Linked DNA regions of Homo sapiens: all the other regions are linked to region 3. The links are contacts of gene promoters, found by promoter capture Hi-C in blood cells and fetal thymus (Javierre and others, 2016). All regions are on one chromosome and are shown on one strand. The core of a region is centred on a gene start or on the middle of the fragment in contact, and the rest is flanking DNA. Distances in the headings are between cores, read along the strand shown. Region 1 holds the start of FEM1C (fem-1 homolog C). Region 2 holds the start of LMNB1 (lamin B1). Region 3 holds the start of ARRDC3 (arrestin domain containing 3). Region 4 overlaps DIMT1 (DIM1 rRNA methyltransferase and ribosome maturation factor). Region 5 holds the start of SGTB (small glutamine rich tetratricopeptide repeat co-chaperone beta). Region 6 holds the start of CENPK (centromere protein K). Region 7 holds the start of ADAMTS6 (ADAM metallopeptidase with thrombospondin type 1 motif 6).

Evidence for each region. The method cuts DNA at HindIII sites, captures the fragments that hold promoters and counts their contacts. A CHiCAGO score of 5 or more calls a contact.
Region 1: a contact is called between the fragment with the promoter of FEM1C here and the fragment with the promoter of ARRDC3 in region 3, in 3 of 17 cell types (activated CD4 T cells, fetal thymus and naive CD8 T cells). The highest score is 10.6, in activated CD4 T cells.
Region 2: the fragment with the promoter of LMNB1 here is called in contact with the fragment with the promoter of ARRDC3 in region 3 in 2 of 17 cell types (non-activated CD4 T cells and fetal thymus); the score reaches 7.5 in non-activated CD4 T cells.
Region 4: a contact is called between a fragment that was not itself captured here and the fragment with the promoter of ARRDC3 in region 3, in 1 of 17 cell types (total CD4 T cells). The highest score is 7.3, in total CD4 T cells.
Region 5: a contact is called between the fragment with the promoter of SGTB here and the fragment with the promoter of ARRDC3 in region 3, in 1 of 17 cell types (fetal thymus). The highest score is 7.1, in fetal thymus.
Region 6: a contact is called between the fragment with the promoter of CENPK here and the fragment with the promoter of ARRDC3 in region 3, in 1 of 17 cell types (total CD4 T cells). The highest score is 8.7, in total CD4 T cells.
Region 7: the fragment with the promoter of ADAMTS6 here is called in contact with the fragment with the promoter of ARRDC3 in region 3 in 1 of 17 cell types (fetal thymus); the score reaches 11.7 in fetal thymus.

What each region holds. Positions count from the first base shown.
Region 1 is chr5:115,543,246-115,546,102 of GRCh38, forward strand. It overlaps FEM1C (fem-1 homolog C), which reads right to left and starts at 1,530. Exons shown (of 3, transcript NM_020177.3): 1 at 1,278-1,530; 2 at 1-438. The coding sequence starts at 248. RefSeq lists enhancers at 1,079-1,845, 1,387-1,681 and silencers at 1,111-1,280, 1,331-1,380, 1,481-1,820. The HindIII fragment of the contact is 1,787 bases long and covers 718-2,504 here.
Region 2 is chr5:126,775,629-126,778,405 of GRCh38, forward strand. LMNB1 (lamin B1) reads left to right here and starts at 1,508. Exons shown (of 11, transcript NM_005573.4): 1 at 1,508-2,239. The coding sequence starts at 1,881. It overlaps LMNB1-DT (LMNB1 divergent transcript), which reads right to left and starts at 858. Exons shown (of 4, transcript NR_134485.1): 1 at 667-858. RefSeq lists silencers at 285-334, 985-1,634, 1,835-1,914, 2,225-2,274, 2,485-2,594 and an enhancer at 1,269-2,069. The HindIII fragment of the contact is 4,360 bases long and covers 1-2,777 here.
Region 3 is chr5:91,381,384-91,384,604 of GRCh38, forward strand. It overlaps ARRDC3 (arrestin domain containing 3), which reads right to left and starts at 1,934. Exons shown (of 8, transcript NM_020801.4): 1 at 1,430-1,934. The coding sequence starts at 1,709. The region is part of intron 1 of ARRDC3-AS1 (ARRDC3 antisense RNA 1); the gene reads left to right. RefSeq lists a silencer at 1,841-2,150 and enhancers at 2,004-2,521, 2,401-2,700. The HindIII fragment of the contact is 1,076 bases long and covers 1,673-2,748 here.
Region 4 is chr5:62,398,285-62,401,184 of GRCh38, forward strand. It overlaps DIMT1 (DIM1 rRNA methyltransferase and ribosome maturation factor), which reads right to left. Exons shown (of 12, transcript NM_014473.4): 4 at 536-597; 5 at 362-455; 6 at 227-276. Among named protein-coding and RNA genes, the nearest start is that of DIMT1, 4.2 kb to the right of the region's middle. The HindIII fragment of the contact is 6,457 bases long and covers 1-2,900 here.
Region 5 is chr5:65,720,604-65,723,616 of GRCh38, forward strand. It overlaps SGTB (small glutamine rich tetratricopeptide repeat co-chaperone beta), which reads right to left and starts at 1,506. Exons shown (of 11, transcript NM_019072.3): 1 at 1,314-1,506; 2 at 105-226. The coding sequence starts at 204. NLN (neurolysin) reads left to right here and starts at 1,602. Exons shown (of 13, transcript NM_020726.5): 1 at 1,602-1,811. The coding sequence starts at 1,771. RefSeq lists silencers at 1,077-1,126, 1,187-1,236, 1,307-1,916 and enhancers at 2,193-3,013, 2,787-2,866. The HindIII fragment of the contact is 2,154 bases long and covers 502-2,655 here.
Region 6 is chr5:65,561,635-65,564,802 of GRCh38, forward strand. It overlaps CENPK (centromere protein K), which reads right to left and starts at 1,534. Exons shown (of 11, transcript NM_022145.5): 1 at 1,464-1,534. It overlaps PPWD1 (peptidylprolyl isomerase domain and WD repeat containing 1), which reads left to right and starts at 1,662. Exons shown (of 11, transcript NM_015342.4): 1 at 1,662-1,872. The coding sequence starts at 1,677. RefSeq lists enhancers at 789-1,450, 1,171-1,310, 1,451-2,111. The HindIII fragment of the contact is 1,930 bases long and covers 450-2,379 here.
Region 7 is chr5:65,480,416-65,483,555 of GRCh38, forward strand. It overlaps ADAMTS6 (ADAM metallopeptidase with thrombospondin type 1 motif 6), which reads right to left and starts at 1,505. Exons shown (of 25, transcript NM_197941.4): 1 at 928-1,505. RefSeq lists enhancers at 1,258-1,617, 1,385-1,884, 1,658-1,707. The HindIII fragment of the contact is 619 bases long and covers 1,314-1,932 here.

The DNA of each region.
Region 1 (2,857 bases), core at 280-2,779, about 24 Mb after region 3:
CCCTCAATGGTTTCGCCATCAAAATTGACGGAGCCCCCAACTTCTATGGAGGCACTGCATTGCTCTAGGAGGAATTCCACCATGTCAAGGTGCCCATACCTGGCGGCCATCAAGAGTGGCGTGGCCCCATTTGTTTTTTCAGAGATCAAGGAGGAAACCTCCTCTTTGGATTTGCTTGCCAACAATTTGGTGAGAAGCCGGAGTTTGCCATCCCGAGCTGCGTTAAATACTGCTGTCTTTAGATCCATTTATGTCCAGTTGAGAGGCTGTGCTTTATTTATCTTTCAAAGCAGAGCTCCAGTTTAACTCTATCGACACAGGCAAGAGTCACAGGAACCAAAGTCCAATGTTAATTGCTGCACCCCAGAACGGATACACAACCACGAAGAGTATGTTCCGTCCTACTGCTTTCCAACATCTGACAACCAGGGCACCAAACTAGAGAAAGAAAAAAAAAGTAGCAGCATTTAATTTTCTATAGAAGAAGGCAAAACACTTCTTAATTTCCACTTCTGTGGGAAGAAAGGAATAAAAGCTATACTTCAGGCACTACTCCATCCCACACACCCCCCCCACCCCCAAAGAAAAGGTGGTAAAGAAAAATACAGAAGGATACACAGAGACCCAAATGTTCTGGTCGCAGGCAGTCTCCTCCATGTGCGGAAAATTTAAACACTACAGGCAGCCCGTTTTCTCGCCTCCAGCTCTAACCAGCCAAGCTTTGTTCTAGTTTTGCTTTGCACACGCCCAGGGAGAGTACAACCGAAAGAGGCAGGAGACTCGGGTTCAGAAATGTTTCTCTTTCTTGCAACTGCAGGAGAGCTGGCCAAGGGCGCCAGGCTGGAAGGCCTGAGGCCGGGTTTCGAGAAAGAACAAAAAGGTCGGACACACCAAACCCCGGCTAAGGCCAAAACTGTGCCCCGAAAGATTCTCTTTCCTTTAAAACTACTCACGGCTCTCAGGAAATCCGCCTGCCTTTTAGTCATTAACTTCGCCCGCCCCATTTCGATCACCCCCCACCCCCCGCCAAGGGATGATCCGCAGGTTCCTCAAACCACAGTCGCCCCAACACAACCTTCCCCTCTCCCTGTTCCAGACAACGGCAGCCCCCTCCCAATCTCCTCCATCGACCACAACCCCCTCCCGATGGGCCAAGCTGTGGCCTCCAGCCCGCTGCCCGCCTTCGGCTCCCCCGGCGCCCTCCTTCCCGCCCAGGCCTTCCGCGGGCACCTCAGGCCCCGGCCCGAGCCCTGGCAGGCCGCTGCCGCCGCCACTACCTGCCCGGGGACTAGTCCTCCCCGCCGCCGCTGGTCACTCGGGCTTTGTCCGTCCCCTTCAAAGGGAAACCGTTGTCCCCACCGCCGCCCGGGCCGCCCTGCTCCGCCTGCGGCCGCACAGCTCCTCCATGCTCCGCGCCCCAAAGGAATGAATCCGGCCGCGCTGTTCGCCACGCCCCGCCACCCGAGCTGCCTCCCGCCCTTAGTCGGCTCGGACTGCAGCGGCTGCAGCGACTGCTGCGACGGATGGTGTAATGGGCTGCGAGCCGGGGGCCGGACAAGCCTGAGCGTCACATCACTGACTGTGCCGCCACGCCATTGGGCCGGGGGAGGGCGGCGGCCGCGGCCAGCAACAGCCTAGGCGCGGGGCGGGGCGTCGCGGCCGGGGTGGGGCGACGGGGAGGGGGCGGGGCCTGAACTACTGGGAGGACGTGCCTGCGTGCAACGCGCTGGGGGGCGGGGCGCTGCGAGGGGGCGGATCTGTGCCCATCGAAGCGGCCCGAGGCAGCTCGAGTTCTGAGATCTCGCTGGCTCTTCTCCTCTCGGATTTTCGGGGTGCTCCCTTAGGGAATCTTTCGGTCCCATCTCAGAGACCCCAGAAGGGAAGTGTATTAGTGCGTTTTCACGCTGCTGATAAAGACATACCCGAGATTGGGTAATTTATAAAGATAAAAAGATTTAATGCACTCAGAGTTCCACGTGGCTGGGGAGGCCTCACAATCAAGCCAGAAGGGGAAAGGCACGTCTTACATGGCAGCAGGCAAGAGAGGAAAATCAGAGCCAAGGAAAAAGGGAAACCCCATATAAAACAATCAGCTCTCCTGAGACGTACTCACTACCACCAGAGCAGCATGGGGGAAACAGCCTTCTTGATTCAATTATCTCCCACTAGGTCCCTCCCACAATATGTGGGAATCATGGGAGCTAAAATTCAAATTTGGGTGCGGACCAGTATTACCCTCACACACGTGAAGTCTCTCGGACTAGTCTTCCGTCCTTACTTTGGTGGGCCCTGGAAATTACCAAGCTCGTAATTACACCTCAGAACACACACGGAGGAAACTGAAATTTCAGAAAATGTGATTAGTTTTGGAGGCTGTCAAACTGACTCTCTTTCTAAAGTAGCCTCTAAAAAGCATAAAGGCTACGAGGAATGGTAAACCCTAAGAGCAATGTAAAGTCAATGAGGTCAGGTTCTTGAGCTCTGAGTAATAAATCGGGAACTAAAGCTTAAAAGGTTATATATATGAATGAAAAGAATTACTTCTTCATATAGTAGTTGATAAACCTCTGGAATTTGATGCTAAAACCTACGTTGCATTAAACTAGGATGAAAAAGTTTAAATGTGTTTGGGAAATAACGCCCATAATGAATCCTGATGAGAAAACAGAATTTTTGAAAATGGACCTTCAATCACTTTGTTTGAGGGAACTTAAGCTCACATAATTCCTTAGTACCACTAGGAGAAATAGAATATTACAGTAGGCAGTCTGACCCTCAGCATATGTAATCCATAACGTTATGTTAGAAGTCATGCAGCACTAAAAACATTTATAAAAAATCACAACTTCATTTTTGT
Region 2 (2,777 bases), core at 258-2,757, about 35 Mb after region 3:
TCAATTAGAATCCTGGGACCTGTCAAACGCAGTCCTGCGGAGCAGCCTTCAGACAGTGAATCTATAAAATGGATGGTTTCTTTCTTTCTTTTTTGAGACGGGGTCTCCCTGTCACCCAGGCTGGAGTGTAATGGTGCCATCTCGGCTCACTGCAACTTCCCCTTTCCGGGTTCAAGGGATTCTCCCACCTCAGCCTTCCAAGTAGCTGAGATTACAGGCACCCGCCATCATGCCCGGCTAATTTTTGTATTTTTGTAGAGACGGGGTTTCACCATGTTGGTCAGGCTGGTCTTGAACTCCTGAGCTCAGGTGATCCTCCCCCACTCGGCCTCCCAAAGTGTTGGGATTATAGGCGTGAGCCACCGCGCCCGCCCGGATGAATTTTCAAATAGAAACAATCCAGTTTCCCACATCACACGGAGATTGTGTGGATGGGTAATCCATGAAAAGCCTGGTGCTGGCACTCAGTCCCAATAAATGTTAGCTAAAAATTAGGAACTTTTCAAAGGGATGAATGTGCTTTCTAATAGAAGTAGCTGCCAGTGACATCTTGGGAGCCTCTTTTTAAAAGCAAAAAATTATTTCATCTTAAATTTTCACAAGTTCAGATTTTTATGTACCTGATTTTAACGGAGTATGAAACAGCTTGCTCTCGTAGTTACTCACCGTCATATGTTAATCGTATCATTTCTGAGCTGTTTTTTGATTTTACAAACCCTTAAATTAAGAAACGGATTAGGAACCGCCCATTAACACTGTTGGCAAATGATTTAAAATCAGGGTTGCTGGTTTTTCTGTGATAATCTATCGGCTTCAAGACGCACAGATCTCACTTTCATGGAAAGAAGTTGCCTGATACAGTTTTCCACCGGAGAGAAAAATAAAGGCTGGTACTTGGAACCTGCAAGCCGTGCATTTGGAACCTCGGACTCAAGTGCCTATTACGTAATTCCACAGCGTCCCGGCCTCCAGGCCGTTTCCCGAGCCCTCCAGCGGAGCGGGGGATAAGGTTACCACGCCCGCGGTGGCCGGGGACACTCTGAGTTTCGCGTGTGGCTTTTAGGGACGTTTATATTTGAATTTCCCTGAACCGCCGAGTGTGGGCGGTGGCGCAGATCCGTCCCGGAAACCTCCGGGCTCCTTCCCGCCTTTCTCAGGCCCGGCCCCTCCAAGGGGTCCCCGCGGGGCGGCGGGAGGGCCCTGGGCCCAGAGCCGCGCGGGTGGGCAGTCCCAGGCGTCCTTCCTTACAGCCCTGAGCCTGGTCCGGGAACCGCCCAGCCGGGAGGGCCGAGCTGACGGTTGCCCAAGGGCCAGATTTTAAATTTACAGGCCCGGCCCCCGAACCGCCGAAGCGCGCTGCCTGCTCCCCATTGGCCCATGGTAGTCACGTGGAGGCGCCGGGGCGTGCCGGCCATGTTGGGGAGTGCGGCGCCGCGGCCCGCGCCACCTCCGCCCCCCGCGGCTTGCCTCCAGCCCGCCCCTCCCGGCCCTCCTCCCCCCGCCCGCCGCTCCGTGCAGCCTGAGAGGAAACAAAGTGCTGCGAGCAGGAGACGGCGGCGGCGCGAACCCTGCTGGGCCTCCAGTCACCCTCGTCTTGCATTTTCCCGCGTGCGTGTGTGAGTGGGTGTGTGTGTTTTCTTACAAAGGGTATTTCGCGATCGATCGATTGATTCGTAGTTCCCCCCCGCGCGCCTTTGCCCTTTGTGCTGTAATCGAGCTCCCGCCATCCCAGGTGCTTCTCCGTTCCTCTAAACGCCAGCGTCTGGACGTGAGCGCAGGTCGCCGGTTTGTGCCTTCGGTCCCCGCTTCGCCCCCTGCCGTCCCCTCCTTATCACGGTCCCGCTCGCGGCCTCGCCGCCCCGCTGTCTCCGCCGCCCGCCATGGCGACTGCGACCCCCGTGCCGCCGCGGATGGGCAGCCGCGCTGGCGGCCCCACCACGCCGCTGAGCCCCACGCGCCTGTCGCGGCTCCAGGAGAAGGAGGAGCTGCGCGAGCTCAATGACCGGCTGGCGGTGTACATCGACAAGGTGCGCAGCCTGGAGACGGAGAACAGCGCGCTGCAGCTGCAGGTGACGGAGCGCGAGGAGGTGCGCGGCCGTGAGCTCACCGGCCTCAAGGCGCTCTACGAGACCGAGCTGGCCGACGCGCGACGCGCGCTCGACGACACGGCCCGCGAGCGCGCCAAGCTGCAGATCGAGCTGGGCAAGTGCAAGGCGGAACACGACCAGCTGCTCCTCAAGTGAGTGCTAGCTGGCGGCCGCGTTAGCGCCAAGGAGGGGCGGGGGCGCAACCGCGGCGACCAGCTCACCGGGTTCTGCCGTGGGGAGGGAGCAGAGGCCAGGATGCACGCGTCCTTCTGAAGGAACAGGGTCTCGGTCTCCGGAAAGGAGAAAGAATCTAGAGTTCATAGCGGAGCAGGGGTCGCGGAGGGGGCTCGAGCTGTAGCGCTGGGGGGCCGTGATGCCCATTTCTAGATTTTGGATACCCGCTGGGACGTGGTAAGTGCGCGCCTGGGACTGCCGAGAAGGAGCTCCCGCTTTCGCACTCGAATCCGGGGAGCCGGCGCGGAGAGGCGGCCCCTCAGGCCCCAGGTGCGGGGAGCTGGAGCGCGAGCGCGCGCTCGCGTGCGCGCCCCAGTTTCCGGCCGGCGCGAGACAAAGCGTCTAGCGGATTTGCAGTGCCGGGATGGGCGGCCGGGGAGGACTGGCAGCCCGCCTCTAGAATGAATGAGCTTCGCGCGGGCAGAGAGAGGAAGGGGAGGGACCTTCCCGCAGCAT
Region 3 (3,221 bases), core at 684-3,183:
AGAAAGGTACAAACACAAAGTCATCTATCTGCTTTTCAACAAATACCAAGGCTGTCATTAGGCATTTGCATCTCCTATCAGTGTTAACACTTGGAGAGATTAATTAGTTATTTCAGGATGCAAAGTACCTGTATCTAACTACGAAAATCCTGCTAAAGAACTGAGTTCACCTTAATAGTTTCAAAAATAATGCATTAATACTGTCCCTCAAAGCATCCTTCATTTCTCACTTGCCTTAGTCATCAGCACTTCTCCAGGATGTACGTTTTTAATATAAAAAATAAGGTAAAATATGTCTCTAATTTTTTTTCTGAAAAATCGCCAACATCTGAACTAAATACTGCATTAAAAAGGAGAGGCACAAAAATTACATAACCAGTTTTAACATTATATTCTTCTTGGGCTAGGAATTAAGTCATCGCCACCACCTGACGCGTGTAACCAATCTGCTGAGAGCAGAACAAGCGCCCCTCCTCACCACCCCCCAGAACTGGTCCGAAACAGGATTGAACCGCTTCTAACAAAGGGTGGAAACTTAGAAAAACAAGCCTAGAGTCTCCTATATTTCCACAATGTAACCATTTAAACAATAGATTGGAAATCTCAGGACTCCTTCTCCTTTTGACAACCCTTTATCTCTCTCTTCTAACCAAAAATCAAATCCAGTGTGCCCTATACTTTTCAATTCCATTTGACTGGCATGGGTTTCATTGAATGCACGTTCCAAAGTTAGACATGATGCTCGGAAAAGAAAATTACTGATCCTAAATGGCTTCTAAACCTGACTCGATACCTATCATAATGACAGATAGTCATTCCTTTAAAATAAGGAATGCTGGGTGTAAATTTTTAAAGGAATGGTAAAGAATAGAGAAAAAACACGTGGGGTGTTGATACCATATGTCAAAATAAGCCACAGAAATCTTTTATGAAAGAACAGTCATCAATTATTTAAAGTCTTTTGCATTCCAATATTAAAAATGAAACACACCCATTAAGTCTCTTAAAAATGTTATTACATTTCTTGATCGAAGTTCAGTTTTTACATCTTAGGTTGCAAGTAAAAGGGCAAAAATCTAAGACTGCAGCTTTTACCAATTCATTTGAAAATATATTAGTAAAACGACTGAATTGGATTCAAACAGAATTTATAAGTAAGGTGCAAATGGACTACAAGTGCGTGTGGCACAGACCGAGCCGGGTACAGAGGTAGCTGAATAAGTGTAGTTTGCAGTCACTTTGCAGATGCCTGCATGCATTACGGCTTAACACACGATGAACGTCAAGGAGAATCCAAACCTTCCAACTTTGCTAACCTTTCTCAAACTGCTTAGTTATGCTAGGAGTAGAATCACGTTAATTCAGAAAACTGAAAAGGTACGTTTCCAAAGAAAATGAGTCCAATGACTTATGAATAACAAAAACTTACCTCTTTCGTGCCCAATTAAGATGTCTTTATGGTTGAAATACTCTACTTCTTCAGTGTAATTCTGTGTATAGGCAGTATTGGAGCCGGCGTTTCTAGATTCAGTCCAGCGTACTTTCGCATGTCCTCTTGCATGAATTTTAAGAGATTTTACTCTGATTTCCCCAGTAACTTCTAAATTTACCCTTCCTGAGACGGTATCCCCACTAGAATACACAGGGACATTGCTGTCATTAAGACAGTCAAAGCTTATTGTCAAACTCTTCACCTTTCCCAGCACCATGTTTATAACAAAATCTATAAAAATATAATGTAAGACAAAAAAGTCAAGATCGCATATAAAATGTGATCTTCACTTAACACTGATCGATATTTTTGCCGTGCAAAATGCTTGCAGGCCGGATCAGTGATTCTCTACAAATAGTTCATTGAGATTTCTTAAAAAGTCAGGGCAGCAGAGGCTGCTGCTCCGCGCTCCCGCTCGTCTCAGTGGTCTCCTTACAAAGACGGGCGGCTAAAAGCTGCCAGCTCACTTTAAGAGCAGCTTTGTGAAAAACAACCCCAGTGCGCAGGCGCAGGCCGCGGCTGCTGTCCGCCCTCCCTGCGCGCCCCCTCCCGCGCCGCGCCGCGCCGCGCTCGCTCCCTTGCCCGCTCGCTCCCGGGTACAGTAGGTGTAGAGCTAGGGGAAGGAGATACTGGAGCTGCTGGCCGGCTGAACCTGACTTCTCTTCATTGTGGGCTCCTATTGGTAGGCAGGCTACCGTATACCCTCGACGTGCTATCTGGAGCCCGTTACCGAGCGCACTCTACTAGAAAGATAATGGCAGAGTGGGGTGCGAGGGTACAAGGGCTGGGTGGGGAGTTTGCAAAGCCAAGTTAGGATAAACTGCAGCGACCAGCCCGAAGCGTGCGTTACCGGCACTGCAGCGTTTTACCAACTGCCTGGATGGGAGGAGGAAAAAGTGATGTGTGAAGAGAGATGGGGGAAGGGAGAAACCGGTTGGGCAAGCGGCCGATTGTTGAGCATAATCTAACGAATTTCCAAAGAAAACGTAATAAAACCGGACAAGAAATATTGTTCATAGACAAGAGCATACTTTGCTTGGATTTTTTTTTTTTAAACCAGTACTTTGTAGGCAGGTTGGAAATGAACTCAGTCGAGGTCAAAGGAACCTTAATCCTTTGAAGAGCGAGGTAGAGAAGCAAGTACAATGTAATCAATAGGCTTTGCTGTCTCCTCAACTTCTTTCTCCTACATTGCTTAATTAGCACCGAAAAACAACCAAGTTGTTTCCAGGATGACACGGGTGGGGGCTGGGGGAAGCTTGATCACTTCCTCGAAGGAAGAAAAAGTCCTTTTAAGACACCACCTACGGCTAGATTTGCAGAGTAAGACATGATTACAACTCCTGTGTCCAGAGGAATAAGAATAGAGTTCGGCCTAAAAAAGTACTACCTTATAAAAGGCATATGACATAGTGGTTTAGCTGACATATTGTTTGCAACAGAATCGGAAAATCTTTGTTAGAAATTAGTGAAGCGCATAAAATTGTTTTTAAAAAGCATGATTTGGTATATAAATAGGGATTTAACTGTGTGAAGCTTTAATTTTCGGCCGAGAGCCTTGGACCATTTAACGTAGTAATTCTCATGATACATCTTAAATATAGGTACATTTCTCTTTTTATTGTGAATGTTTGGTAAAAAATAGCAGTGCTTTCGTCACATCACACTGGGATTCAGAGCATAACAGCATAAACTCATCTAGATTACTGGCAATCAACAGAACTGCCTT
Region 4 (2,900 bases), core at 342-2,841, about 29 Mb before region 3:
ATTCAAAAATAGGGAAAGGCTGTCTGGTCTCAGAAGCAGGACTTCCAGCACACTACCCCCAAATAACCTCTCAATTAAAGAGAGAAAGACCTCCATACAAATCAACATTTTCTACAAAAATTCTTCAGTAGTTTTTCAACTGACCTGACTCATTTTTGGCTATGTTCACCACCTGAACTGTAAGTCTTTCAAAATTTGGCAGTAACTCTAGTCTTTTGTCACAAACCTGAAAAAAGGTCGATGTAGCAACAGCTTGAAGACAAAAGGTGAAGAGATCTGTAAGAGAATTAACTAGTTATTTCCGGGAAAGACACATCAGAGGAACAGTTAGTATGATGTTCCTGAAAATGTGAGGACATACCTGATAAGGCAAATTTGCCACACAAGTATCAAAGAATGGCAAATCTGTTTTCAGCACATCACCCACCAGTACTTGAAGTTTGCTGGCCACAGGCCTGATGAGAAAAGAAGAAATGTAAAAAGAATGTTGTTTCATGAGATTGAAATGCACTTTAATTCTATTATGTATACTCACGTGCCCTGAACTCTTTTGTGAAGTTCAGCTACTAGCCTTGGGTCAAGTTCACAAGCAACAACCTAATTTAAAAAAAATAAAAATTATTTAGGTTAATTATGGAATATAAATCTTTTATTGTTATCCCAACAGGAACTCTTACATGATTTATGTGACAAACTTCTTCTCCCATTTCTACCATCAATATTCCTTTAATTATACTCGCATACTTCAAACAACAAACAAAAATGGGCCGGGTGCAGTGGCTCACGCCTGTAATCCCAGCACTTTGGAAGGCTGGGGTGGGCGAATCATGAGGTCAGGAGTTAAAGGCCAGCCTGGCCAACATGGTGAAACCCCATCTCTACTAAAAATACAAAATATTAGGCCAGGTGCAGTGGCTCACGCCTGTAATCCCAACACTTTGGGAGGCTGAGACAGGCAGATCACCTGAGGTCAGGAGTTCGAAACCAGCCTGGCCAACATGGCGAAACCCCGTCTCTACTAAAAATACAAATTTAGCTGGGTACAGTGATGGGCATCTGTAATCCCAGCTACTCGGGAGGCTGAGGCAGGAGAATTGCTTGAAACTGGGAGGCAGAGGTTGCAGTGAGTCGAGATCGCACCATTGCACTCCAGCTTGGGCAAGAGACAGAGACTCTTGTCTCAAAACAAAAACAAAAACAACACAAAATATTAGCTGGGCCTAGTGGTGGGCGCCTGTAATCCCAGCTACTCAGGAGGCTGAGGCAGGAGAATTGCTTGAACCCTGGAGGCGGAGGTTGCCATGAGCCAAGACTGTGCCACTGCATTCCAGCCTGGGTGACAAAGTGAGACTCCATCTCAAAAAAAAAAAAAAGCCGGGTGTGAGGCTGAGGTGGGCGGATCATGAGTTCAGGAGACTGAGACCAGCCTGGCCAACATGGTAAAACTCTGTCTCTACTAACAAATTCAAAAATTATCTGGGCGTGGCGGCACGTGCCTGTAATCCCAGCTACTCAGGAGGCTGAAGCAGGAGAATTGTTTGAACCAGGGAGTCAGAGGTTGCAGTGAGCCGAGATCGCGCCACAGCACTCCAGCCTGGCAACAGAGCGAGACTCCATCTCAAAAACAAACAAACAAACAAACAAACACCACCACCCAGAAAAGTAGACAACCAGATTATGTGAGAGTTCTACTCATATAATCAATAGAATCATGTTTCATCTGTCTCCATGCTTTGTAATTCAACAGATGATGAAAAAAATACACTACATGTCTCTGCAGTCAGTGTTGTTAGAGAAGAGCGTACAATGCAATTGCTCTTACTGTTAGTATGTCACATCTACTGAGATACACAATACATGGCATAGATAACTTCTCAAGTAAATGAAAATGGATGTCAAATAAGGCCGAAATTGAAATTTTATTGCAATTTCAGCTGAGGTTTCACTGACTTTATTTTTATTAAAAAATAATTTTTTTTAAGAGATGGGGTCTCACTCTGTTGCCCAGGCTGGAGTGAAGTGGCGCTATCATAGCTCACTGCTGCCTCGAAGTCTTGGGCTCATGGGATCCTCCCACCTCACCTTCCTGTGCAGCTGGGACCACAGGTGTGTACCAGCACACCAGGCTAATTTCCTTTCTTTATTTTTAATAGAGACGGGTCTCTCTATGTTGCCCGGGCTGGTCTCAAAACTCCTGGGCTCAAACAATCCTCCCACCTTGGCCTCCCAAAGTGCTGGGATTATAGGCGGGAGGCACCATGCCCAGCCTTTTTATTTTTTATAGAGATTGGGTCTCGCTTTGTTGCCCAGGCTGGTCTCAAGCTCATAGCTTTAAGCAATCTTCCTGCCTCAGCCTCCCAAAGTGCTGGGATTACAGATGTGGGCCACAGCTCCTGGCCCTACTTCTATATAGACCCTGTTTACATGGTAAACAATGTGTTTCTTACTCTGTTTGGCTCCCAGATCTATCTTTAGTTTTATTTTTATTTTTTGAGACAGGGTCTCACTGTGTCACCCAGGCTGTAGTGAAGTGGCAGGATCATGGCTCACTGGAGCCTCAACTTCCCAGGCTCAGGTAAACCTCCCACCTCAGCCTCCCTGCTAGCCAGGGCTACAGTCAGGCACCACCATGCCCAGCCAATTTTTTGTAGAGATGGGGTTTCACCATGTTGCCCAGGCTGGTCTTCAACTCCTAGGCTCAAGCCATCCACCCGCCTTAGCCTCCCAAAGTGCTGGGATTACAGGTGTGAGCCACCATGAAAGGCCCTCCCAGATCTATTATCCGCTTTTCTCTGCATCCTACAGATAATGCAGTTCAGCTCCCTTACCTTTCAACTTCTGGTTGGAATTGGCCAGTGAAAGGCACCAGCATTATAGGGTACAAAGGGGAGGCGTTGGGT
Region 5 (3,013 bases), core at 256-2,755, about 26 Mb before region 3:
AAAAATTCTGATTATGTTACAATAGATCATCAAGTTGGGCTTACAGCTATTTTAGTCTTCGTTTATAATTATAATATAAATGAACACAAAGAGCAGATGCATACCTTCCAAACTTTCTTGTTCATCCGAGGTGTAAGTGTCCATCTGACTTTGTTCCCGTAAGAAACGAATAACTGCATAAACCAGGTGCTTGATAGATGACATTTTAGAAGCTTAAACACTTTTCCTTGATAAGAAAAATGAAAACACTGAACTAAGTTATTTTAAAGAATCAGTCAGGAAAGTCATAAATTACAAAGATGATATGGGTTATAAAGTGTATTAAAGGTAAAAACAAAACACAAAACTGTATGACCTTTCATCTTTTCTCTTTGTAAAGAGTCAGGAGAGCACAAAGTATTGTGAAGGTAATTTATTACATATTTTCATTAATACCCAGTGGTATACGAGTATGTTAAATCTTGGAATAAGTAAAAATGTCTTCAAAACATGTACAGCATAAGCTTAGACTGTCACTGCATATCTCACCATACAGAAATCCCCTAAAGGCCTCAGTACTAAGTTAAGAGGCATTTCATACTGCTGACTAAAAGCTGATGTATACCAAGCATCTTCCTCTTTTTCATGGGATCTAAAAAAAGTATTAATAATGTACACTCTACCCACTTTTGTAGGTTGAGAGTTATTTGATGAGGAAACACATTCGCGAAAGGTTATTCAAGTGGTGAGTGTCGTTCTTAATAAAAATGGCATTTCTATTTAATCAGCAGACATGTCAGGAAATCGCTGCCCAAGTCGATGGATACTACAAGCCGACCGGCGCTCCCTGCAGAGGCTGTGCTCTCGTGGACAAGCTGGAAGCTCCCGGTCATGTTCATTCACATGGAATACTATCGCATCCAAACAGTGGCGCAGGGCCAGGCGGCATTCATGGCTGATTTCCACCAAATCGCATCATCCATCTGCTCCCCAGGTTCCCTAATTCAAAGCCAGGGTGTGGTACCCGCCGCTATAATGTTTATTATTTGTGTAGTTATTTTAAAGGCGATGTCAGCCTCTAGGCCACGGGGTCATAAGCACTAAATAAGGCCCCAGGGCAGAAGGTAAAAACAGAATGGGGGGAAAAGGGGTGAGAAGAGGGAAATAGGCTTCTCCCCCTTCCTCTCCCCAGAGCGCATCGAGCTCCCCCTCCCTTCCGTCCTCCCTCAGGTACCCGGCCTCGCCTCGGCCCTGCCCGGTGTGCAGCGGGTGCCGGTGCGGGCCCCGGTCCGGAGCGGCGGGAGGCGCACCCTTGCCAGACAGAAGCCCCTTACCAAGCAGGAGGACGCGAGACGACTGCTGCTGGCCCGCGGGGTTCCGTAGGCAGGCCCGCCCGACCCCTGGTCCTCGGGGCTGGAGCCCGGCTCGGGATCGCAGCACTGGTCGCGGCGGCGCAAACTTCCCCGGCCCCTAGGCCGTAGACCCCAGAACCCACCAGGCTGTGCTCTCTCTCAGGCGGCAGGGTCTGGCCAGCACCGCCCCTGGGGCGGGGCCGGACGCGAGGGCTGGGGCGGGGCCAGACACGCGAGCTGGGGCGGGGCACGGCGCGGGGCGGGGCTGGTAGGCGCCGGCGTGGAGCTGCCGCACGTGGGAGGGCGCTGGCCAGGCAGCCACTGTGGCCTCTGCGGCTAGGCCGGCTCGAGACTCCCGGGCGCCCAGGCGCTGCCGCCCGCCTCGCCGCCCCACGCCGAAGGACCACGCGCCCGCCGCCGCCAGCCTCTCAGCGCTCCCATGATCGCCCGGTGCCTTTTGGCTGTGCGAAGCCTCCGCAGGTACCTCCAGCGCGCGGGTTAACCTTGGCCGTGGGCAGGGCGGGGTCTTTCGCCGTGTGGTGCCTGGAGCCCGGACCCACCCCTTCCCGACCGCGCCTCTCCGACGCTCCCGGGACGCACCCTCCCCGCGGCTTGCAAGGTGGACCCCTGGGGGACACCTGGCGCGGCCACCTGGGGCCACCTTTCCCGCCTCCGCTCCCTCGGGAGGACGTCCATTCCTCTTTGTTTGGGACTGCCTCAGCCGCAGTCAGCGAGGCTGGTCACAGACGCGGCCCAAAATGAATGCAAATAGTTTGGATAAGAAAATCATTTCACGTTCAATCCCAATGCAGAACTACAGACCTGTCATTAAAAGTGCCGCAGCTGTGGACTCAGAACAATTGTGTTTGCTCCTCGCGCCCATTATTAGCATTCCAATCGTTTAACATCCACCCGAGATGAAACCTCTTTGGTGGTGTTGCTTGTTTCCGTCCATGCTCTCTGACTTCCTTTTTTATTTTCCTCCTCCCCATAAAACAAACATTCTGCCTCTTGCCGGTGCAAATTGACTTGGCCCAAAATGGAGAAAATGATCGCTTGGACACGGCTTTGGGCAGCCTGAGCTGCTGTTTTGGATTGCTTCCTAGCCCTCTAACCACACCCCACTGCAACAGACCAGTAGCAAGATGGTGAGGGAATTAAATTCTTTGCACGGATGCGCTGGTTTTCGGAAACAATGCCGCCACCATCCCCGTTTCCAAATCTGCCCAGAACTGTAAATCCAAATGAAGATTCAACAGAATAAAGAAAATGTGTGCTTCTTGCTAGCTATCAACAAAACTACTTTGTAACATGTCAGCATTTAAGCTTTCTACAGTTCCCTTTTGCACATTGCCACTCGTCTGTGTGGATGGAGCTTTGTGTTGCTCAGTCCGTAGAGTTAGGGAGCAGGCAGGCGACAGTGGTTAATTACAAAGAGTTAATGTGGTGATTGGTGACCATATTTCAGCCTGTCGTTTTTTGCTAGTCTCCAGGCTGCAATCGATATAGCTGTCAAATGAAGTTATACCAAGAAATGAAGACTTCACATAATGCAGGGGTGAGAGGAGGGAATAAATCTTCATATAAGAGCAATTCTCGGCCGGGCGCTGTGGCTCATGCCTGTAATCCCAGCACTTTGGGAGGCCGAGGCGGGTGGATCACGAGGTCAGGAGATCGAGACC
Region 6 (3,168 bases), core at 284-2,783, about 26 Mb before region 3:
TTCCCGTTCCCACATTTTGTATCCTTAAACCTATCTTCCTGGAAAGGGAACAAGTCAACTTTTTGAGGTCCCCAGTTAGGACTACAATACTTAATCATTTATTGAAGAAAAACAGTATCTCTTTATTTAGGGATAATACTATACTTAAAGAAACTCGTACTATTAATTGGGAAAAGATTAATATACATGAAATAAGCAAAAAATACCCACATAATTCTAAAATACATTCATTTATTCAACAAATATGTTAATGTGTGCCATTGGTCAGACACTGGCTTTAGCTGTGTAGATGAAAAAGTCTTTGTACTTGTAGAGCTTCCATTCTCATGCAGACAATATAAATGAATGGATAACTAAATACATGATATGATTTCAGGTAGTCAGAAGTGCTATGAAATGGTAAAGTATACAACACTGCCTGCAAGTACTATCGGAATTCAGGATAGGGAAGCTTAGAAAAACCAACCCGGAAGGAATTAGTCCATAATAATGCTTAATAAATGTTAACTAGCTACATTATTATTATCATTATCATTATCATCTTCATCCTCATTATTGCATTGGTCTCTGAAAGATGAGAAGCTGTAAACATGAAGGCTAAATCGCTGTGGAGATGCTTTCAAGCATAAAAACATAAGAGTAGGAGGCAAGAACGAACAAGGGAAATTTGTGAGACACAAAAGAAAGTAGTCTGATGAGAGCAGAGGGCAGAGAAGAAATGAGACTTGCTAGGTAGAATGGTCAAATAATGGGAACCTTTGAAATAAAATAAAGTGCCTACTATGGGGGGGCAGTTCCTTCCCTGTACGTGGTGCCTATCTCAAGGCAAAAGTAGAGAAGAGATTTACGACGAGGATTTTATTAGGTTGGTGCAAAAGTAATTGCAGAGAAAAAAGAAGTGTTTTACGGAGGTCATTTTGACAAGCTGTATTTGATTTTTTAAAAAAGAGATTAAGATAATACATTTTATGTTATGTGCTTTTTACCTAATTTTTTAAAAATGAAGAAGACAGATGAGGAGGAGGAGAAAGAGTTCAGATGACTGCTAGGAGATGAAATCCTATACCAGAGAGAAGAAAGAAGAGTGACCCGTTCTGCCCTAGGTCTTTTGGTTATTTGAAGTAGCTGCTTCTCCACCCCACCCCCAGAAACAGTAACAAGCACTCACCACCTTCTTCAGAGAGTGTGTGAGAGAATAAAGGTCAGGAGAGAAAACATGTTTAGTGCATCTGAAAGGAAACCCGCGAGTTAACCACTTCCTTCTGTCCCCACCCTTCCATCTTTCTCTAAATATTGGTGAGGTTATGGAGCTTGCGTTGGCGCGCGGGAAGCCGAGAAGAACGGGACTCAAAGCCCGGCTGGGAAGTCAGGTATCTAGTTGGCCGGCGATAAGGGTTTCACCTTCAGGACTGGAGCTCCACAAGATTCAACCGTTATATCAACCTCCCCGGCCCAGGTCTTACCATCACAGCGTCACAAACTCCAGGTCGCCTAGGCGCTGCGCAGGAAGCGCTTGCCAGCCCCGGACTTCTGCGCGCGCTGCATGCCCATTGGATGTGCTCATTCCCACCCCAGCCAATCCCGAAACTCGCTCGGACGCTGACAGAAGACTGCGCCGCTGCTTTGGGATTGGTAGCTGAGTTTTGTGTCGCGCCTTTTCTGACGATGCGAACAACATGGCGGCGGAAAGTGGTAGCGATTTTCAGCAGAGACGTAGAAGGCGCCGGGACCCGGAGGAACCGGAAAAAACAGAACTCAGCGAAAGAGAGCTGGCAGTAGCAGTGGCGGTGTCCCAGGAGAACGATGAGGAGAACGAAGAGCGCTGGGTTGGACCTTTACCTGTGGAGGCAACACTGGCCAAGAAGAGGAAAGGTAGCTGCAGACATAGTACCGGGACGAATTGGAGTGCTGCGTCCGCTGAGTAGGAGGGTTCAAGCCAGATCCGAAGAGGGATGATGTGTGGAGTTTTGTGCCCTCAGAACAGAGGGCCGTCCTCTCACTTCTGGCTACTCCATACTTGCATGTCTTAACGAAATAGTGATTTAAGCGTAGTACAACGTCTTTTTGATAATATCTAACACTTTTGATCATTGATTTGTTATGACAGATGCTAAAACTAACATTTTCCTATTCTTATGTGTTTGGCTCCTCTCATTTACTCCCCACAGCAGCCACATGAAGTTGGAATTTCGAACTCTTATTTAGGTATGCAAAAGGGTACCAGTTCTCTTTAAGGCTTTAGTTCAGGAGTGGTGTTAATGTATTAATGTGTTGGGGCGCGAGAGGAAGGCGGTGCTTATTTCGAATCATGGTAGGTAAAGATAATTTCAACTCTGACACTTCCACTAATAAATTTTCGCATCTAGGGAAAATGACGTAAGCTTCCTAGATCACAGATTTGTTTTCATCCAAAACCCGAAGTCTGTGGTTTTGAAATCACGCTCTTGATACGATGGGCTGAGTCTTTTTGTCACTAACGAGGAATAATCACAAATTATTATCAAATAAAAGGGGTGGGAAAAGGGGTAGATTAAGTTTTCTTGTCTTTGTTGTTTTGTTATCTTGTTTTTCTGTGAAATGTTTTCCTTAAGTATTTAAGACATTTTAAATGTGGTCTAAGCTCAAATCGTACTTTAGCACCTTCCCTTAAAAAACTTCAATGATTTGTCATTATTTTCTCTCTCTTTTTTTTTTTTTTTTTTTTTTTTGAGACGGAGTCTCGCTCTGTCGCCCAGGCTGGAGCGCATGCAGTGGCGCTATCTCGGCTCACCGCAACCTCCGTCTCCGGGGTTCAAGCGATTCTCCTGCCTCAGCCTCCCGAGTAGCTGGGGCTACAGGCGCACGCCCAGCTAATTTTTGTATTTTTAGTAGGGACGGGGTTTCACCATGTTGGCCAGGATGGTCTTGATTTCTTGACCTCGTAATCTGCCTGCCTCGGCCTCTCAAAAGTGCTGGGATTACAGGCATGAGCCACGGCGCCCAGCTCATTATTTTCATTAAAGCCCAAACTCCCTCACATGGCATATAAAGCCCTTTATGATGTGATCTCTCCTTACCTTCTTAGTGCATCTTCCATTACCTTCCTCTCCCAACCCCTTACTTTGTACTCCACCCATTCTAAAATCACTCGAGAATCGGTCTTGTACTTTTTTTTCCTCTGGATTCCTA
Region 7 (3,140 bases), core at 255-2,754, about 26 Mb before region 3:
ACAGCAGCGCTAAATCTATTTGGATAAAACGCGTGTGACCCAGACAGTTGGCATCTGGCCCAAACGCGTTGCACCGGCAGCTCAAATAAAAACAAGAGTAAGAAACTCACTCTCTTGTTCCCTCTCAGTGCGCTTTCTCAATCTCTCGCTCACTTTTCCTCTAGTACAGGGAAAGAAAGCATCAAAGACAGGAATTGTAGCACATATTATCAGAAAGAGGCTTCCCAATACCCCATTCCTGCACTCTCACTCTCCCTCCTCAATCCCTGAACTTTGGTCCCATACACCATATATACAGACCTACCCCGATAAACAAGGCTCCGGAGGGTTATGAGTCTAGCACGTCCCAAGTGGCCAAAAGTAAATCAAAAACACACGTTTCCATCTCTTTGATTAGCCTATTAAGAGCTTAACATGTCCTAGAGCATCGGGGCTACAGCTAGCACATTAATGCTACCCTCTGAGCCCAGGCATAAAATATGCACTTGTCTGAAGACTTAACGACACTGACATGAAACTACAAAATGCATAAGACTTTTCTGTAAGAAAACTGGAAATCAATTTAAAACACACACATCATTATTACCTTCCGGATTACTATTTGGTGATCAGTTAAAAGATTACAATAATCATAATCAAGTCCACTTCACAAAACATGTATTGTATATTCATAAAATAAACGTATTTTTTTTGCATCATAAAATAACTGCAAGTCCCAGAATTCTACAACCCCCGACAAGTCTGGAGTTAAAAAGATATCTATTTGTAAAATGAGTTCAGTCAAGCTCACTCATTGCCATTAAAAAAAAAAAAAAAAACACACACACAGAAAAAAAGTTTTCTAAGCGTTATTCGGAAGACAAGCAAAGCACAAGTTGTTGGTTTAAAAAAAAAAAGCTCCATTGAATATTGTTAAGTCTTCCTTACCGTTTTCATCTTCAAATTCTGATAAAAAGTAAGTTTCAGACAATAGAGATTGCACTGGACGACTCACGTACTCCCTCTCCTCTCTAACTTTTTTTAATTTTTTTTATTTTTTTATTTTTTGCCCCCCTTTGCAAAGCCACACCAGCCAGTTATTCTGCAGCCAGAATAAAACCCTATGGTCTGGCTAACCCGGGCTTTAGAGAACTGACTTTCCGATTTGGCAGAATAAGAGATGCCTTCAATACATCTAGGCTATCACTCTGAGATGCTGCCTTTGCAAACCCCCTTTCTCTCCCTCCCCACCCCCCAAAAAAGGAAAGGAAAAGAAAGAAAAGACGGGAAAAAAGACTTATTGGGGGTGGAAGTGGTGCCCTCTCTTCCTGGAAAGCTTAGTGCCTTTGCTATGCAAATAACATGTGCAGAGCATCAAAAGGTATCAGGAGAAAAGAAGACAAGAGGAGCAGGAAGGGCAGCAAAGTTTTGTTGAAGTAGCCCTAGATCTCACTACCGGCCCCCAGCCAACTTGAATTGCAGCAGGAGAAAATTTTGGCAGCTTTTCCTCGGAGGCAGAGCACACTGACGTCAGTCTGCAGATGTGCCTGGGCTGCGTCGGGTGCGCATGTGTCCTGGGTCGTCACGTGGAGGGGGAGGGGAGGTAGAGGTACAATCGGGGTAACCAACTACCAGCCATTCAGAAGGGCTTAGACAATGTCAACTTTTCCACACTGTGAATGAGAGAAATTCTGGCCTCTCTAACCTCTCTGTCCTATCTCATTCCGCCTCTTTTCCTCCTCCTCCTCTAAACTCTCTTAGAAATTCTAGCCTGGTTTGCTATTAGTTGTTTCTTGGAAAAATGAAGGGGGAGGGAGAAGGATGAATGACTTTAGATGGACTAATGTCACTGTTAAGATCTCTGGTGTCATTCTCCGTGTAATTTTATTTTTAAAATCCACACAATCAAAATGTTAAAACTTGCACGCAAACAGTGCCTCTGAGGAAACTTAAAGCTTAGATTCGTGCAGCAGGCACAAGACTCAGTAGCTACAAGTGTACAAAATGCCTGTGTTTTATACATACTTCAGCAAGTAAGGTTAGCACCAAAAGGGAAAGTAAACTAAAGTAAACTAATACCAGCACATTTTCCATTTGATTATCGACTTCAGGTTATGTGGAGCTTTAAAAGAAGAAGAAGAAGAAAAAAAAAAAGTAGGGGAGGAGGGAGCGGGGGAAGGAAGAGAGAAGCTTGCATTATTTCCAGATGAGGGTGAGACTGGATGGTGTTTTAAAGTGCAACCGGGAAAAGCCACAAGTGGAGTGTATTTTTTTAAGTCAGTCCATTGAATGAAACTTCAATGACTGCCCAAATGAAAATAAATCCGAAGTAGGACCCCACCACCAAAAAAAAAAAGGAAGGGAAAAAAACAGGAACCCTGCTGCGATCTCAAGATAAACAAACAAAACCTCAAAACTGGTTCTTCAACCTTCCCAATCCCACCCTCCCTCCCCCCTACACACAAGCTGCCAGTCCAGACTTTAAGGATAAAATACCGCTACAATGTAGCACTTTCACTTTCATTTGCTGAGAATGAAAGCCGCTGGGGAGAAAATGCCCAGTGTTTTCCATGTCCTAAGCAAGCAAACAAAGTCTGGCACATACATCGGAAACAGGAAAAAATGTGAAAATAGCTCAGGACAAATGTTGCCTTTCAACGGTGTAATCTGCTGCATCATTTATCTGTCTCTACCATTGAGTGTAGAATAGGGAGCTGTTTAAGAGTTTCCGAGGTTGGGGGCAGGGGAAAATTGACGCCTTGAAATTCCAGCCCTTAGTTAATGCCAAGTCAATTTCCGATGGTGAGAACCAGAAAGGAGAACTGGACCGGAGGGAAGGGGGTAGGAAGGATGATCTTTCTGAATACCAGCTCTTAAATATCAAGCTTCTGCTAACATTATTGCCCATTTGATTTTTTTTTTTCTTCCTACGCCGGAGGTAGTAGGTGTAATTCTTCTGGTGAATCTATGAATAGTTGGCTAAAAGGAGGCATGAATCAGACTGAGAACGTCCAAGAATACAGTTATTTCAATTCTTCTTCAAGGGTTGAAAGTGGAAAGCATCTGTCCACAGAGTAAATAGTCCTCATCCTGACCTTAATCAGTAGTATCTGGCTAAAAGCCATTTAAAATGTAGAAATCTGTTCAATAGTGGGCATTGA